Linked DNA regions of Homo sapiens: all the other regions are linked to region 6. Evidence: promoter capture Hi-C in 16 types of primary human blood cells and fetal thymus (Javierre and others, 2016). All regions are on one chromosome and are shown on one strand. Each heading gives the region's core, a stretch centred on a gene start or on the middle of the fragment in contact. The rest is flanking DNA. Distances are from core to core; before and after follow the strand shown. Region 1 overlaps SASH3 (SAM and SH3 domain containing 3). Region 2 has its middle 7.5 kb from the start of BCORL1. Region 3 overlaps BCORL1 (BCL6 corepressor like 1). Region 4 overlaps BCORL1 (BCL6 corepressor like 1). Region 5 has its middle 21 kb from the start of SASH3. Region 6 holds the start of UTP14A (UTP14A small subunit processome component).

The links. Contacts are between HindIII fragments. The CHiCAGO score rates a contact against its expected background, and 5 or more counts as called.
Region 1: a contact is called between a fragment that was not itself captured here and the fragment with the promoter of UTP14A in region 6, in 1 of 17 cell types (activated CD4 T cells). The highest score is 5.3, in activated CD4 T cells.
Region 2: a contact is called between a fragment that was not itself captured here and the fragment with the promoter of UTP14A in region 6, in 1 of 17 cell types (activated CD4 T cells). The highest score is 6.2, in activated CD4 T cells.
Region 3: a fragment that was not itself captured here is called in contact with the fragment with the promoter of UTP14A in region 6 in 1 of 17 cell types (activated CD4 T cells); the score reaches 6.5 in activated CD4 T cells.
Region 4: a fragment that was not itself captured here is called in contact with the fragment with the promoter of UTP14A in region 6 in 12 of 17 cell types (activated CD4 T cells, neutrophils, monocytes and 9 more); the score reaches 8.6 in activated CD4 T cells.
Region 5: a contact is called between a fragment that was not itself captured here and the fragment with the promoter of UTP14A in region 6, in 2 of 17 cell types (activated CD4 T cells and M2 macrophages). The highest score is 6.4, in activated CD4 T cells.

Annotation. Positions count from the first base shown.
Region 1 is chrX:129,783,037-129,785,736 of GRCh38, reverse strand. All of the region lies in intron 1 of SASH3 (SAM and SH3 domain containing 3), which reads right to left. Among named protein-coding and RNA genes, the nearest start is that of SASH3, 4.4 kb to the right of the region's middle. RefSeq lists an enhancer at 244-333. The HindIII fragment of the contact is 685 bases long and covers 991-1,675 here.
Region 2 is chrX:129,973,786-129,976,485 of GRCh38, reverse strand. No RefSeq gene overlaps it. Among named protein-coding and RNA genes, the nearest start is that of BCORL1, 7.5 kb to the left of the region's middle. The HindIII fragment of the contact is 3,364 bases long and covers 1-2,700 here.
Region 3 is chrX:129,990,913-129,993,612 of GRCh38, reverse strand. The region is part of intron 1 of BCORL1 (BCL6 corepressor like 1); the gene reads right to left. Among named protein-coding and RNA genes, the nearest start is that of BCORL1, 9.6 kb to the right of the region's middle. The HindIII fragment of the contact is 3,001 bases long and covers 1-2,700 here.
Region 4 is chrX:130,016,485-130,019,245 of GRCh38, reverse strand. The region is part of intron 4 of BCORL1 (BCL6 corepressor like 1); the gene reads right to left. Among named protein-coding and RNA genes, the nearest start is that of BCORL1, 35 kb to the right of the region's middle. The HindIII fragment of the contact is 1,633 bases long and covers 607-2,239 here.
Region 5 is chrX:129,799,792-129,802,491 of GRCh38, reverse strand. No RefSeq gene overlaps it. Among named protein-coding and RNA genes, the nearest start is that of SASH3, 21 kb to the right of the region's middle. The HindIII fragment of the contact is 2,236 bases long and covers 294-2,529 here.
Region 6 is chrX:129,904,785-129,907,494 of GRCh38, reverse strand. It overlaps UTP14A (UTP14A small subunit processome component), which reads right to left and starts at 1,331. Exons shown (of 15, transcript NM_006649.4): 1 at 1,259-1,331; 2 at 53-128. The coding sequence starts at 1,284. It overlaps LOC105373335 (a long non-coding RNA gene), which reads left to right. Exons shown (of 3, transcript NR_188631.1): 3 at 1-231. The HindIII fragment of the contact is 20,573 bases long and covers 899-2,710 here.

The sequences.
Region 1 (2,700 bases), core at 84-2,583, 120 kb after region 6:
AACCCTGGGGACTGGTGAGGCTGGAAAGCAAGCAGGAGGGCAGGCATGGGGCCGGAAGTCGGCTTTGTTGGGGAAGAGTAAATTCACTGCCTGCCTGCCCTCTAATTGCAGCTCTTTCCCAAGGCCTTTTCCTGTCATTAATCTGCAGTCTGGGGGCTGGGAGGAAAGGCCTTTGGCTCCCAGACCCTTGTGCGAGGGTCCCTCTGTCTCAGTTTTAGTCCAAAGTGGGAGGAGATAATCACAAAGGACTATAGAGATGGTGCTGGGTCTTGGGCCCAGTTGGCTACTCTCAGCCCAGGGAGATGGAAAGGACAAACACATGTTCTTTGGGTGATCGAGTTTCAGGGCCCTCCAGGGTGGCATTTTGCCAAGCCTACCTCCAACCTCAGGGACAGCCCCAAGTATCTTGACCGCCTTTCAGAGAGAGGTGACCCCCATTCAGGGTTGAGTTGAAATTCTTGAGCCTGGCTGGCTTTTCTGCTGGCTTCCCTTTGGAGTGAGGACTTCCTGGGAGTCGTGCCTGACGGGGGAGGTGGTACCATACACTGTTGGCCCCCTTTTCACTTCATGGCTCAGGGGAATGTGTGGGCCTCTTGGAAAGAGCTACATTTCAAATGTATATTACATTTGAAATATACTAAATATATTGTTGAGTATATATGTATTGTATATTACATTTGAAATATATATTGAAATATATATTGTTGAGTATATATGTATTGTATTGTATATATGTATTGTATTGTATATTACATTTGAAATATACATTGAGTATACTCAACAATATATATTTCAATATATATTTCAAATGTAATATACAATACATTTGAAATGTAGGGCCACCAAAGAGTATATATACACCATATGGTTCCCCCTGTATAATTATAGTTCAAAGCCTGGCAGAACTCACCTATGCTATTGTAAGTCAGGATAGTGGTTACTGTGGGAGAAAGGGGGCATGTAGTGACAGGCAGGGGCATGAGGGAAGCTTTCTCAGAAGTTCAACTCTGGATTTGTGACCTCCGGCAAGTTATCGAACCTCTCTGAAGCCCACTTCACATCAGGGCAAGTGTTCCCATCTTGGTTCTGCCACTGATTGTGTAAACTGGGTATGTTTCTTAACTTCTCTAGGTTTCTGTTTCCTCATTAGTGGAATGAAGACAAAAGCACCGACCTCATCTGGCTGTTGTGAGGATGAAATGAGCGAGTACGCCTACAGTGCTTGGAACATTGTCTGACACGGCAGTCCCTTGTGGAATGTAGGTTTATGCTTACTCTTTCCTACACCCCACCTCCAGCCTCTTACCCTGGGCATTTCCCCACCTGGAATACTCTGCCCTTCTCTCTGTCAGCCGTAGTTTCTCACCCTTCCAATTTAAGTGGAAAACCCGCAAATGCCCATCATCTGTAGAATGGATAAATTAATTGTGGCAGAGTCACACAAAAGAATAGTACCCAGGTAGGAGACAGTACAACTGTTCCCAACAGTATGGATGAGTGTCACAAACATATGGTTGAGTAAAGGGGCTGGCCACCAAAGAGTATATATACACGATATGGTTCCCCCTGTAAGTTCAAAGCCTGGCAGAGCTCACCTGTGCTGTTGGAAGTCAGGATAGCGGTTGCCCTGGGGGAAGGGGGGGGTGTAGTAACTGGCAGGGGCATGAGGGAAGCTTCTAGACTTCTGAGAGTGTTGTTTCTTGATCTAAGTGCTGTCTACATGGGGATGTTCACATTATAGAAACTCATTCGGTGGCGCAATTATGATTTATCCACTTCTCTGTATGGATATTATACTTCTATGGAAAGATTTTTCAATTCCAGCTTAAAAGGCAGCATCCATGCAGAAACCATGCCCTGATCAATCTCTCAGAGGTCCACACTGCCCCAGCCAGCATCCTCTTCCCTTACTTCCTGAGCAAACTTGGCTTTCCCCAGTGGTCTCCTGAGCTACCCCCTCTGCTCCTTCAGGGTATCAGGCATATACTGAGCACCCTGTGAGCTCTAGGCCCTACCTCTGTGTGTGTGAGAATCCAGCAATGAGGGTCTAAACTCCTCCCGCATGCCCGTGTCCTGCCAAGCACTTCCTGTGTGCCAGCTCACTCCAGCCTCATCGCAGCCCCGCATCATATTCGCACCTCGAAGCAGAGGAGACCAAGATGCGAAATGAAGTGCCCTAGGCAGGGTGGCGCAGCTGGTCTTAGGAAGAGCAAGCCTCCAAACCCAGGTCTATGACTCTGGAAACCCAAGTATGTTGCTGTGCTCGTGCTACCTCAGAGCTCATGCTGTTGCCCCGCCCCACCAGTGTAGAAGTTAGCAGTGGATTGAGTGTAGTGGTGATGGCATGCAGGTGGTTTTTGAACAGAGCTCCTAGGAAAGCAGGTGGGAGTGCAGAGGGGGAAGGGCTCTGGCGGGGCTTTGTGGAGGAGGTATATCTGAGCTGGGCCATGCAGGGGAGGCAGGATTTCTCCAGGTGGAGCTCGGAAGGGTTTGAACAAGAATGAAAGTTAGAGACGTTGAGAGCCTGATGATGGGATGGTGGGTGGGGGAGTAGAAAAGGCTATGGAAGGCTCTTGCCCGCCAGGCCAAGGGCATGTATCCTGTGGGCAGTGAGGAGCCACTGAAAATACAAAGTGCATGCTGGCAGGGTGTGGGGGTCATACTAGAGGTGTGCTGTAGGAAGGGAGCCATGGAGAAAGT
Region 2 (2,700 bases), core at 93-2,592, 69 kb before region 6:
CAGCTGCCTACAGAGTACTGGATACTAAGTGCTGGCTCCCAGAGAACAAATGGCCTGGTCTCTGCCCTCTTAGAGCCCCAGGTGTGGATGGGGAGACAGCATGTCCGGTTAAACTGAACTCTGTAAACAACCAACAACTTTTTTGGATTTTATAGCCAAAGGAGTGAAAATGAGGAAAGGGGCTGAAATCAACCCAGAGGCCTCACCGGGTCAAGCCCTTCAGCTTGCTGACCACTCTCCTCTTCCCTGAGACTCCTAGGCTCTAAACAAAGTTCTTTCTTAAAAATTATTATTTTTTTTAACATTAGAGGGGGTGGTGGTGGCGTGGTCTTGCAATGTTGCCTAGGCTGGTCTGGAACTCCTGGGCTCAAGTGATCCTCCAGCCTTGGCCTTCCAAAATGCTGGGATTATAGGTGTGTGAGCCACCGCGCCCAGCCAACAAAGTTCTTAATCAAACATGCAGTGCTAGAAGTGGAAGGGATTCTAAGAAATCTGCCCTCCTGAAAAACTGGCTATGGTTGGCCACTGCCAACAAAATCAAGTCCATGAGCCTTCACCTAGCCTTTAGGGCCCTCCCTGATCTAGTTCTAGCCTCCTTTCCTTCCATGTCTCTCACAAGCCCTCTTTTCTGACCTGACTGGCCCCCTCGGCATTCCTTGGATAAGCCATCCATTTTGTCAGCTCTGCTTCCTCAGCTTTTTTTTTTTTTTAAACACTTAAAAAAATTGTACAGATGAGGCTGGGCGTGGTGGCTCACACCTGTAATCCCAGCACATTGGGAGGCCAAGGCGGGTGGATCACCTGAGGTCAGAAGTTCAAGACCAGCCTGGTCAACATGGTGAAACCCCATCTCTACTAAATATACAAATATTAGCCAGGCATGGTGGCAGGTGCCTGTAATCCCAGCTACTCAGGAGGCTGAGGCAGGAGAATCGCTTGAACTCAGGAGGTGGAGGTTGCAGTGAGCCAAGATCACGCCATTGTGCTCCAGCCTGGGCAAAGAGAGCAAAACTTTGTTCAAAAAAAAAAATTGCACAAATGAGTTCTTGAGTTCTCGTTGTGTTGCCCAGGCTGGTCTTGAACTCCTAGCCTCAAGTGATCCTTCCCTCTTCGCCTCCTAAAGTGCTGAGATTACAGGTGTGAGCCACCATAGTGGCCTCCCACAGGTTTTTTTGTTTGTTTGTTTGCTTGCTTTTTTTTGAGATGGAGTTTTGCTCTTGTCGCCCAGCCTGGAATGCAATGGCGTGATCTTGGCTCACTGCAACCTCCTTCTCCTGGGTTCAAGCGATTCTCCTGCCTCAGCCTCCCTAGTAGCTGGGATTACAGGCACGTGCCACCACACCCAGCTAATTTTTGTATTTTTAGTAGAGACAGGGTTTCACCATGTTGGCCAGGTTGGTCTCGAACTCCTGATTTCACATGATCCACCCACCTTGGCTTCTCAAAGTGCTGGGATTATAGGCGTGAGCCATCGCACCTGGCCCCTCCCACCTGCCCCCTCCCACAGCTTTTTATATGTCTTTCTCAGCTTATTGAAATCTCACTCAACCGTTACTCAAGACAGCTCTCTCATCTGGGTGTGGCGGCTCACGCCTGTAATCCCAGCACTTTGGGAGACCAAGGTGGGTGGGTCACTTGAGGTCAGGAGTTCGAGACCAGCCTGGGCAACATGGCAAAACCCCGTCTCTACTTAAAATACCAAACTTAGCCAGGTGTAATGGCACACGCCTGTAATCCCAGCTACTTGGGAGGCTGAGGCAGGAGAATTGCTTGAACCTGGGAGGCAGAGGCTGCAGTGAGCTGAGATCTTGCCACTGCACTCCAGCCTGGGCGACAGAGCAAGACTCTGTCTCAAACAACAAACAACAAACAAACAAACAAAAGACCATTCTCTCATGCCCCTTTCCCTGACACCCACACCCTCCCTATGGAAGTTGGCTGCTCCTCTGGGGCACCCCCACAGTTTTTAGCTTGTCCCTTTAGTTAGCACTTCCACACTCTGCCTGTCTATCTCTCCGACTAGATTTTAAGTTCCTTGGATAAAAGGACTCAGTATTTCTCATCTGTGTATCACAGCCTCCTTCATCTCCCCCCAAGACCTCCCACCTTGGCACATAGTAGGACTTGTTTTACAGTGGAGAAGCTGAGGCCCAGACTTGACTTCCCTTCTTGCCAAAGACTCATTTTAAAGTCTGGGTCTCTTTTAGTCTTTCTCTTCCCACTCAGTGATTAAGCACACAATCTCTGAAGTTAGACAGACATGGTTTGAATACTGGCTCCACCACTTCCTAGCGCTATTGCCTTGCATACTTTTCTCTGAGCCTCAATTCCCTCATTTGTGAAATGGGGGCTAATAAGTACCTCCTGAAAACGTTATAAGGGCCAGGCGCGGTGGCTGAAGCCCGTAATCCCAATGCTTTGTGTGGCCAAGGCGGGGGGAACAGTTGAAGTCAGGAGTTCAAGATCAGCCTGGGCAATATGGTGAAACTCATCTCTGTATATAAAAAAGAAGAAGAAGAAGCAAACGTTATAAAGATCACATGAGTTCTTGTATGTTAAGCACTTAGAACAGTGCCTGGCACCCAGTAGATGCTCCATAGTAGTTTAAAAAAATAAGGAATTTTTAAAGTTCAGAACTTGAGAGCGCCTGCTTCATTTAAGCCTAGGAATAAAACCCACAACCTGAACATAAAGAAAAAG
Region 3 (2,700 bases), core at 145-2,644, 86 kb before region 6:
AGGCTCAAGCAATCCTCCTACCTCAGCCTCTCAAGCAGCTGGGACCACAGGTGTGCACCACCATACCTGGCTAATTTAAAATTTTTTTCAGTACAGTCAGGGTCTCCCTATGTTGCCTAGGCTGGTCTCAAACTCCTGGCCTCAAGCAGTCCTCCTGCCTTTGCCTCCCAAAGTGCTGAGATTATAGGCGTGAGCCAGCGTGCCTGGCCTCACTTACATTTTCATACCGCCAGATTCTTTTTGCTTTCTACCCATTGCTATGATACTTTTTTCTTATTATTCAAACAGTACTCACTTCCATTTCCTGCTGTAAGAAAATTACTTTACTCCATTTAACAAAAACACCTCATCATAGCTTTATAATAAACCTCGGCTCTAGCTACAAGATTTTATACAACTTCTAGATGTCACGCAAAACTTAAGTGATCATTGTGAAATTAATCAGTCCTTTCAAAAGGCAAAGCAACCTCAAAATGTCACCCTAAATATCTAGGGTCATTTTTTGAGTACTTCTAATTTCCGCTAGAACAAAAACACAAATTGGCTTCCCTCAATCTTGGTCTTCAGCAGGACCATATAAATATTTAGTGTGTTTTTCACACTCTAAACTTGAATCATTGTAATATGAGACATTCTGAATCCCTTTTGAGATGCTTCTGGGTCCTGCCTGCCATAGACTGTGACAGTGGCCCTCTGGTGTCTCCATTTCAGTATACTATATTCATGATACGCAATTTTTCACCTAAAGACAATTCCTAGCTGGGCGCACTGGCTCACACCTGTAATCCCAACACTGAGAGGCCGAGGCAGACAGATCACTTAAGCCCAGGAGTTCCAGACCAGCCTTGGCAACATGGTGAAACCCCGTCTCTACAAAAAATACAAAAATTAGCCAGTCTCATAACCCGGTCTCTAAATATATATATATGGTTTTAAAAAAGACAATTCTTCCTCACCCAACTTTTGCTTTTATAAAAGTCTCCTGGACTACATAACACAAATATTTGGAGAGACCATTATCAGGTTATTCTTTCTATTTTCTCACAACAGAACAGACTCAGCTATGGGTTCAACTAATTTTATATATATTATTCATTCAAAGGTGTATCTATACAGCTTTCATTAAACAGTATTAGCTCAAAGAGTTTGTTGTTGTTATTTTAAGACTGGGTCTCAACTCTGTCACCTGGGCTGAAGTGCACTGGCACAATCACAGCTCACTGTAGCGGCACTCCCGGGCTCAAGTGGCCCTCCCACCTCAGCTTCCCAAGTAGCTGGGACTATAGACACATGCCACCACACCTGGCGCCACCAAGCCCAGGTAATTTTTGTATTATTTTGTAGAGACAGGGTCTCGCTACATTGCCCAGGCTGGTCTTGAACTCCTAGGCTCAAGTGATCTGCTAGCCTCGGCCTCCCAAAGTGGTGGGATTATAGGCGTGACGACTGTGCCTGGCCCAAAAATTATTTTAAAAATCAGCTGTGCCTGGTGGTATGGGCCTGTGGTCCTAGCTACTTGGGAGGATGAAGTGGGAAGATCACTTGAGCTCGGGAGGTCGAAGCTGCAGTGAGCTGAGTTTGCACCACTCTACTTCAGCGTGGGCAATAGAGCAAGACTCCATCTCAGAAACAAAAATAAAAATAAAAAGCGCCAGGCACGGTGGCTCACGCCTGTAATCCCAGCACTTTGGGAGGCCGAGGTGGATGGATCACGAGGTCAGGGGTTCGAGACCAACCTGACCAACATGGTGAAACCCCGTCTCTACTAAAAATACAAAAAAAAAAAAATTAGCTGGGCATGGTGGCGGGCGCCTGCAATCCCAGCTACTCAGGAGGCTGAGGCAGGAGAATTGCTTGAACCCGGGAGATGGAGGTTGCAGTGAGCCGAGATCGCACCACTGCACTCCAGCCTGGGCAGCAGAGCAAGACTCTGTCTCAAAAAAAAAAAAAAAAAAAAAAAAGAATATTTTCTGCCGGGCACAGTGGCTCACACCTGTAATCCCAGCACTTTGGGAAGTTAAGACAGGAGGAATGCTGGAGCTCAGGAGTTTAAGAACAGCCTGGGCAACACAGGGAGACCCTGCCTCTACTAAAAATAAAAATAAAAACAATTGTCCGGGCATGGTGGCCTGTCCCAGCTACTCAGGAGGCTGAGGCAACAGAGCCAGACCCTGTCTCAAAAATAAATAAATAGACTAGGCGCAGTGGCTCACACCTGTAATCCCAACACTTTGGGAGGCCAAGGCAGCCGGATCACTTGAGGTCAGGAGTTCGAGACCAGCCAGGCCAACATGGCAAAACCCCATCTCTACTAGAAAAAATACAAAAATCAGCCAGGCGTGGTGGTGGGTGCCTATAATCCCAGCTACTCAGAAGGCTGAGGCAGGAGAATCACTTGAAACAAGGAGAAGGAGGTTGCAGTGAGCCAAGATTGCATCACTGCACTCCAGCCTGGGCAACAAGAACGAAACTCTATCTCAAAAAATAAATAAATAATATAAATACAAAAATTAGCCAGGCATGGTGGCTCACACCTATAGTCCCAGCTACACGGGAGGCTGAGGCAGAAGAATCGCTTGAACCCAGGAGGCGGAGGTTGCAGTAAGCCGAGATCACGCCACTGCACTCTAACCTGGGCAACAGAGTGAGGCTCGGTTTCAAATAAATCAATCAATAAATAAACAAATAAATTAATTAATT
Region 4 (2,761 bases), core at 174-2,673, 110 kb before region 6:
GCCTGTAATCCCAGCACCTCGGGAAGCCAAGGCCAGCGGATCACCTGAGGTCAGGAATAAAAATATTTCGCACACTCCAACTTATGCATGAAGTTGGGAGGATGGGGAGACCGTGAGAGATGAACATTCTGGTTAACAGTTTTGAAATATTTTCCAAAGAGCTTTCCAAGGAATGAGAGGACAATAAAATACATCCAGCACCAAATGAAGCAGAACTCTCTCTCTTTGCTGGTGATGCAGAAGGCCCTTTAGGATCCTGAGAGGCCTTGGGCAGGTGGTATTGGCAACAGGAGACTATTTTCACTCTTGGCCAAGCCCTGAAAGGGGCTATTTCAAACAAACCCCTGATCTTAGTTTGCTGATCAACAGTTTCCTTCTCAGGAAGGTGGCATGTAAAAAAAAAGAAGGAACGAAGTGATTTGCACTCCCAAAAAATAGACATTTACTAAATCCTTACAGGCAGTTGCAAAGAGCTGCTTCCAGGCCCCTGATCTTGTCATTTTAATTTCTGCCCTCTGCATTTGATAGTGGGCCCACTGAACTGTTCATCTAATATAGGATAGGGCAGTGCCCACCTGTCACTGAGTCATCTGAGAGACATAAGCTTCATGAGAGGCGGGGCCACATCTATTTTGTTTGTAATGCTAACAATAACAGCAACCACTAACACTAACTGAACACCTACTATGTGCCAGATACTACTGTACACACTTATGTATATCACGTTCTTTAATCTTTTTTAAAATGACAGCTTTACTGAGATACAATTTATTAAGACATACCATGCAATTCACTTAAGTGTAAAATTCAATTGTTTTTAGTATAGTCATAGAGCTATGTAACCATCCCTACTTATCTAGCTCCAGAACTTTTTCATCACCCTGAATGGAAACCCAATACCCATTAAACAGTCACTCCCCAACTCTTCCATCCTCCCCAACCCTAGGCAACCACTAGTCTACTTTCTGTCTCCATGGATTTGCCTATTGTGGACATTTTATATCATCATCTCATTTAATCTTCACAACTCTATGAGTAGATACTATTATTGTCTTGTGTATAGATTAAGAAACTGAAGGCCATAGAGATTAAGTAGCTTGACTAATAGCACACAGCTAGGAAGAGGTGGGGCCAAAATTCAAACCCAGGCTCCGTGTCTGGCTCCAGGGAGCATACTCCTCATCAATCTATGATACCACCCTCCTGAAGAGGTATTCCCATTGCCTGGGAAGGACTGGCATACAGTAGCCATGCAACAAAAACTTGCAAAACATTCAGTGAAACAGTTCCATGGGCGGAGAGTAGAAGATGGCCAGGTGAGGTGGCTCACGCCTGTAATCCCAGCACTTTGGGAGGCTGAAGCAGGAGGATCGCTTCAGCCCAGGAGTCCGAGACCAGCTTAGCCAACATAGTGAGACCTCGTCTCTACAAAAAATAATTAGCCAGGTGTAGTGGTACACACCTGTGGTCCCAGCTACTTGGGAGGCTAAAGTGGGAGACTGCTTGAGCCCAGAAGGTGAAGGCTGCAATGAGCTGTGATCGAGCCACTGCACTCCAGCCCGGGTGACAGAGCAAGACCCTGACTCAAAAAAAAAAAAACAAAAAGAGAGTGGAAGATAATATGGTATAGCTGAAGAAGAACATGGACTTTGGAACCAGAGACCAGAGTCTGAGTTCTAGCTCTGCAAGTTAGTAGCTGTGTAACTGGGTAATGTATCCTCTCTGAGCCTCTGTTTCATTTATTTTCTCACCTGTAGATTGGTGTAGCATTCACCTCATATGGTTACTGTAACGATTAGATAACAAATGTAAAAACACAACTCTAACGACATGAATTATTATTCTTATTACCACCGAGCGCAGATGGCAATTACCTGCCAAACGTTATATGCTCTACTGCGTCATGACCCACGTTCCTACTTCACGTGTCTCTGACATACCAGGGTGGTTGTGAGGTTTGTGAGTTAAAATCCACCCAAACACCTATCCCAGGGGTTCTTAACCTGCAGTCCCTGGGTGAGCTTTGGGCGATGGGGCAGAGGTCAGGTCCATGAACCCCCTAAAATTATTGGCAAAATTCTGAGGTCACATTTCTGGGAACAGGGTCCATAGCTCTCACCAGCTTTTCAAAATGGTCTATGGTCCAAAAAAGACCATAAACTTGTGCCACAGCCAAATTCACAGTGCTCTAGCCAGAAATTTTGTCCCTTAGTGTACATGAACATCCAACTTGAAAGCTTGCTAACAGAACTTCAAGTTGTTCTAGATTTTTAATAAACCCTATCCTCAAATGTTTCAAGATTCTCCTTGGATCACCAGTAGCCTCTGGTCCCTTCTGGGGGACCAGGGGATTCTCATCAAGTGCTCCTGGCCCACCTTTTTGCCTAGAACTCTGCCACCATCCATAGCCTGTCAAGACCAACACCCAGACACCCAACCTGCCTTGCCCATCCAATCCCCAGTGGGCCAAAACCCAAAGCTGCTGCCTCAAGCATTCGAGCGGGTAGGAAACTGATTAGCACAGAAGCCAAATTGGCTCTGACCCCACAAGGCTCCCAGCAAATCCTAAGCAGGCCCCCCAACCAGTGGTGAAAGGAACAACCCCGTCAGAGGCCCCTGCTCTCCCCATCCCTAAGTTCTCAAGGCCAGTGTTCTCTCAGTAAAGGAAAAGGAAGAATGGTTATTCAAGGAAGAGCCTGTTATTCATTGATTTCCCTCACCAATACCTTCTTCCGCTTTCCGATCTCATCTGGGACAATGG
Region 5 (2,700 bases), core at 162-2,661, 110 kb after region 6:
ACGACAGTGCCATTCATGGGTATTTAAGTTGCCAATATAACATACTTGTATGAGTCTTCATTTATAGAGATTGCTTGCACAGTGATTTTATAGTCTAATTAGTATATTATATTACTATTCTTGAAATTATGTACATAAGCAGGTCATATTAACTATAAAGTTCATTTCAGGGTGGCAAAAGATGCATTCAAAATATGACATATACCAAGGGAGTGCTAGGGCTGCTAGTTTTGAGGACCACTGGACTAGATTATCTCAAGGGTCCCTTTCTAACCCTTAATATTTGGAAAGCTTGGAGAGAAAATAAACATCCTCCTCCCCTCACACCCTTAATGTGCTTTTTTAAAAATTTAAAGCTCATTTTTGAAAATTGGAGAAGTACAGAATAGTAAGATTTGAAAAAATCACCCATAACCTCATCACCAAGATGTAATAATCACCATTAATTAATGTTTTGGTGCATTTCTTGGTAGTCTTTTTTTCTGTGCACATGTTTTTTTTAAACATAACTGGAATTAGACTATAAATGTAGTTTTGTAAACCTGCTTTTTTAACTTAGTATTTTCCATATCATTAGAAATTATTTGAAAATACTTTTTTTTTTTTTTTTGGAGACAGGGTTTCACTCTGTCACCCATGCTGAAGTGCAGTGGCGTGATTTCAGCCCACTGCAACATCCGCCTCCCAGGCTCAAGCAGTCCTCCTGCCTCAGCCTCCCAAGTAGCTGGGTCTACAGGCACATGCCACCAAAGTTGGCTAATTTTTTGTATTTTTTTGTAGAGACTGGGTTTCGCCATTTTGCCAGGCTGGTCTCAAACTCCGCACTTCAAGCAATCCACTTGCCTCGGCATCCCAAAGTGTTGGGATTACAGGCATGAGCCACTACTCCGAGCCGAAAATACTTCTTTTTTTTTTTTTTTGGAGACGGAGTCTTGCTCTGTCGCCCAGGCTGGAGTGCAGTGGTGCGATCTCGGCTCACCGCAAGCTCCGCCTCCCGGGTTTATGCCATTCTCCTGCCTCAGCCTCCCGAGTAGCTGGGACTACAGGCGCCTGCCACCACGCCCGGCTAATTTTTTGTATTTTTAGTAGAGATGGGGTTTCACTGTGTTAGCCAGGATGGTCTCGATCTCCTGACCTCATGATCCACCTGCCTCGGACTCCCAAAGTGCTGGGATTACAGGCGTGAGCCACCGCGCCTGGCTCAAAAATACTTCTTAATGACTTTGTAATGTGTACATGTCAGGCATTTAAGAGTTTCTAATTTTTCATTATTACAAATAATGCTGTGATGAACTTCCTTAAATATGGGTGTGTCTGTGAGTATTTCTTTAGGATAGATTCCTAGAAGTGGAATTATTGAGTCAAAGGGAATGCTCTTTTAAAGGCTCTTGATAAATGTGGCCAAATTGCTTTATTGAAAGGCCGTCCCTGTTTGTTTTGCCAGCAGTGTATCAGAGAAGACTCTAATCAACCCATGTCATTTAAACCTTTCGAATTTTTATTTTAGCTTTTTTGAGACAGAGTCTCGCTTTGTCATCCAGGCTGGAGTGCAGTGGCACGATCTTGGCTCACTGCATTCTCTCCCTCCCGGGTTCAAGTGATTCTCCTGCCTCAGCCTCCTCATTAGCTGGGACTACAGGTGTGCGCCACCACACCTGGCTAATTTTTATATTTTTATTGGAGACGGGGTTTTGCCATGTCAGCCAGGCTGGTCTCCAACTCCTGACTTCAAGTGATCTGCCCGCCTCGGCCTCCCAAAGTGCTGGGATTACAGGCGTGAGCCACCGTGCCCGACCTAAACCTATGGTAATTTGATAGTTGTAAACTTATATCTCAGTGTTAGTTTATATTTATTTGATTAATAGTGAAGTTAAACACTTTCTGCACCTCTCCTCTGCCTTATGTTTATTACCATTTGTATTTCTTCTGTAAATTGTCTGTCCTAATCTTTTGTCTATTTTTCTTCAGGCATTAAGGGGTTTTCTGATTGATTAATAAATTAGAACTTAGAGCTCACACTTCACCACGGGCCAGGAAATGAAGGGGCCCTTGATTTAGAAGTGGCTTTACAACTTTAGAATCTAGAGTAGAATTACCTCCCTGACATTCCAAGCCCTTCACTTTCTTCACTCCCCCACTTGCCTTCTCACTGCTTTTTCTGCCAGCCCCTGCCCATCTCCAGCTGTTTAGCTGTTCCAACTTGGTTAAAAGGGTTGGGGTTTTCTGCCCAAATACGAGACATGATGATTATTCGTCATAAAACACAGATTCTGTTGAACGACATAGCTTAAAGGAACATATTGATCATGTAGTCTATGCTTCTCTCTCTCTCTCTCTTTCTCCCTCAAATTAAATACTGTAACTTAGGGTCACATAGAGAGTTACTGTCAGAGCCAAGACCAGAACCCAGATGTACTGGCTCCCAGTCTAGAGAGCTTTCTGGCATAACCGACTGGTCCTCTGTCAAGCAGGTGTAGATGGATAAAAGAGTTAGAATAACTGCAAATGACACTTGAATGAAATGAAGCTTTCATTTATTTAACATTCAATAAATACTTGTTGAAGATTGACTGCATGCTAGGGTTAACTTTAGGAGAAATTGCAGTACCAACCCTCGTAAGTTGAGAAACAGCAATGATTTTTAGGATTATTTGCCATTTGGGATGAATATTACTGATAAGCTCTCCATTTTAGGCATAC
Region 6 (2,710 bases), core at 82-2,581:
GGAATGTGCTCTCTACCCTAATTTTGAAGGCAGTTTAGCAATTGTCACCCACCTCATCTTCACTCTCACTCAAGAGGTAGTCTTTTGGCAAATCCGCTAGTTCTTCCTGTTGGCTCAAAGCCAGAAGGCTGTTAAAAGAGGCAACAGAGAAATGTGAATGCAATATACCCATGTAACAAACCTGCATATGTATCCCTTAATTATAATAAAAGTCGAAATTAAAAAAAGAAATATTATTATTTGAAGCAATGTCTAATCTATTAAAACAATCTCGAAAACATTGTAATTTCAGCACAGAATAGCCCTATCCCTCAGAAGATATATAAAGCAGCGTGAATGCCTTTGGAAACTTGTCAAGATGTGAAATTTAGACTGAAGTCAGGCATCACCTCCAAGAGTGATGCCTGACTTCAAAACTGCATGTAAAAGAGCTATCACTTTTCAGGGATTGGCACAACATTTCCTATGACCTATGGGAAGCTGTAAAAATGTCAGACCCTAGAATAATATGGCCAAAGACGCTGTTGCTAGCTAGCCCTGGAGGCAAGGCAGTTTCACGATTAATATTTCTAAGCATCCTCCATATATTTGACTCATTGATAGGCAGCCTAATCAAAAGTGTTATCTTGATCCTTGTTCCCAGGAATGGAGAAACAGGTCGAAAGCAGCTGGGTAAGCCACTTTCCCTGGGGCTTGCTTAGTAAAGTAGGTGCTTAACTAAGGAGATTGGTACCCACAAACAAATTATAAAATGTACCATTACCTAACAGCATATATTATTAGTATTTGCAAAGCCAACATTACTAAACGGACTACATTTAGTTCCGGGGGCGGGGTGGGGGGGGCACAAAACATCACAGGAGCCAAAACGTGGTGGATGACTCCAATCAGCAAAGCTTTCCAAGATTCGGGGAGTTTATAACGCCTGCACTGCCTGCGCAGAGGATTAAATCGGGCCGCGACAGAGGCAGAAAAAGGGGCCACGTGACGAAAAATGTGAAACACAGTAAATGAGCTGGGGAGGCAGAAACAGCATCAGGACCAACAGGGATGCGGCTATACAGCTGAGGAGCGGAGTAAGCGAATGAAATTAAATTAAAAGGGCTTTAAAGGCTGGATCGCGGAAAATAGGAACGAATGGCCAGCTCTTCAGGGGAACCACTGCCATCTGTTAAAGGGGGGGCTCCCATTTCCCAAAAGCTGGGGAACCCGGCCCCCAACGAGACCCAGAATCCCCCCTCCCCTCGTTGCCCTTCACCTCTCTGCAAGCCGGTTCGCAGTCATTTCAGCAGCCAGCTTCTCTCACATGGACCAAGAACGGAAGCCGAAGGAAAGCAATTTCCGTGCGGGCCGCAAAGCAATTTCTGTTTCCGTCAATCGCTCGCGACGTACACGTCACTTCCGTTCCGTACGAGGCGTGAGAGAAGCAGGAGCCGTGTAGGGAGGGGCCTGCAGAAAACTGGGAGGCCTGAGATGAAACGGCTGTCAGCGGGTGGGGCATTCCTTTCTCCACCCACCCCGTATTTCTCTGGCGCGCGGGTGTCTGTCCTCCTGGCCCCTGGTTTCCACGTGGCCCAAGGTGGGTTAGCTTAGGGCGACGGTGCTGCGCTCTCAGGGGCTGAGCCCGCGCCTTCATTCGTCACTGCAGAATCCAGAAGGAAAGACTACAGCGCCCGTCCTTGTGCGACGGCGTCCTGCAAGCCGACCACAAGCCAGCTCGGGGGTTTATTGAATGCCTATTAAGTGGCCAGATTGTGCCGGGCCCCGGAGATCCGATGGTGAACATAACAAGTTTCCTTCCATTTAAGGAAAAATCGCCTTTGATCCCTTGTAATTGCAGCTTTGTTCTTCATTTCCTGAGTCAAAAGATTTTTTTTATCCAAGAAGGGGCCATCAGTAACTACGCTTCCTCACCTCCCATCAACTTAAAAAAATTTTTTTAAACAACTTTTTTTCTCCCATCAACTTTTAAGAATTTTATTTATTTATTTTTGAGACAGAGCCTTGCTGTGTCGTTCAGGCTGGAGTGCAATGGCGTGATCTCAGCTCACTGCAACCTCCACCTCCCGGGTTCAAGCGATTCTCCTGCCTCAGCCTCCCGAGTCGCTAGGATTACAGGCACCCGCCACCATGCTCGGCTAATATTTGCATTTTTAGTAGAGACGGGGTTTTGCCACGTTGGCCAGGCTGGTCTAGAATTCCTGGCCTCAAGTGATCTGCCCGCCTCGGCCTCCCAAAGTGCTGAGATTACAGGTGTGAGCCACCGGGCCCGGCCTAATATATATATATATTAATTAATGATTGTAGAAAAATAATAGACAAGAACATTCTTTTCATTTTTTTTTTTTGAGACGGAGTCTCACTCCGTCGCCCACGCTGGAATGCAGTGGTGCGATCTCAGCTCACTGCAAGCTCCGCCTCCCGGGTTCACACCATTCACCTGCCTCAGCTTCCTGAGTAGCTGGGACTACAGGCGCCTGCCACCACACCCGGCTAATTTTTTTTTTTTTTTTAAGTAGAGACGGGGTTTCACCGTGTTAGCCAGGATGGTCTCGATCTCGTGACCTCATGATCCACCCGTCTCGGCCTCCCAAAGTGCTAGGATTACAGGCGTGAGCCACGGCGCCCGGCCCGTTCTTTTCATTCTTGTAATCCATTCCCATTTTGCTTTTGCCCCATTATTCCACAGAAATTGCTCTGGACAAGATCA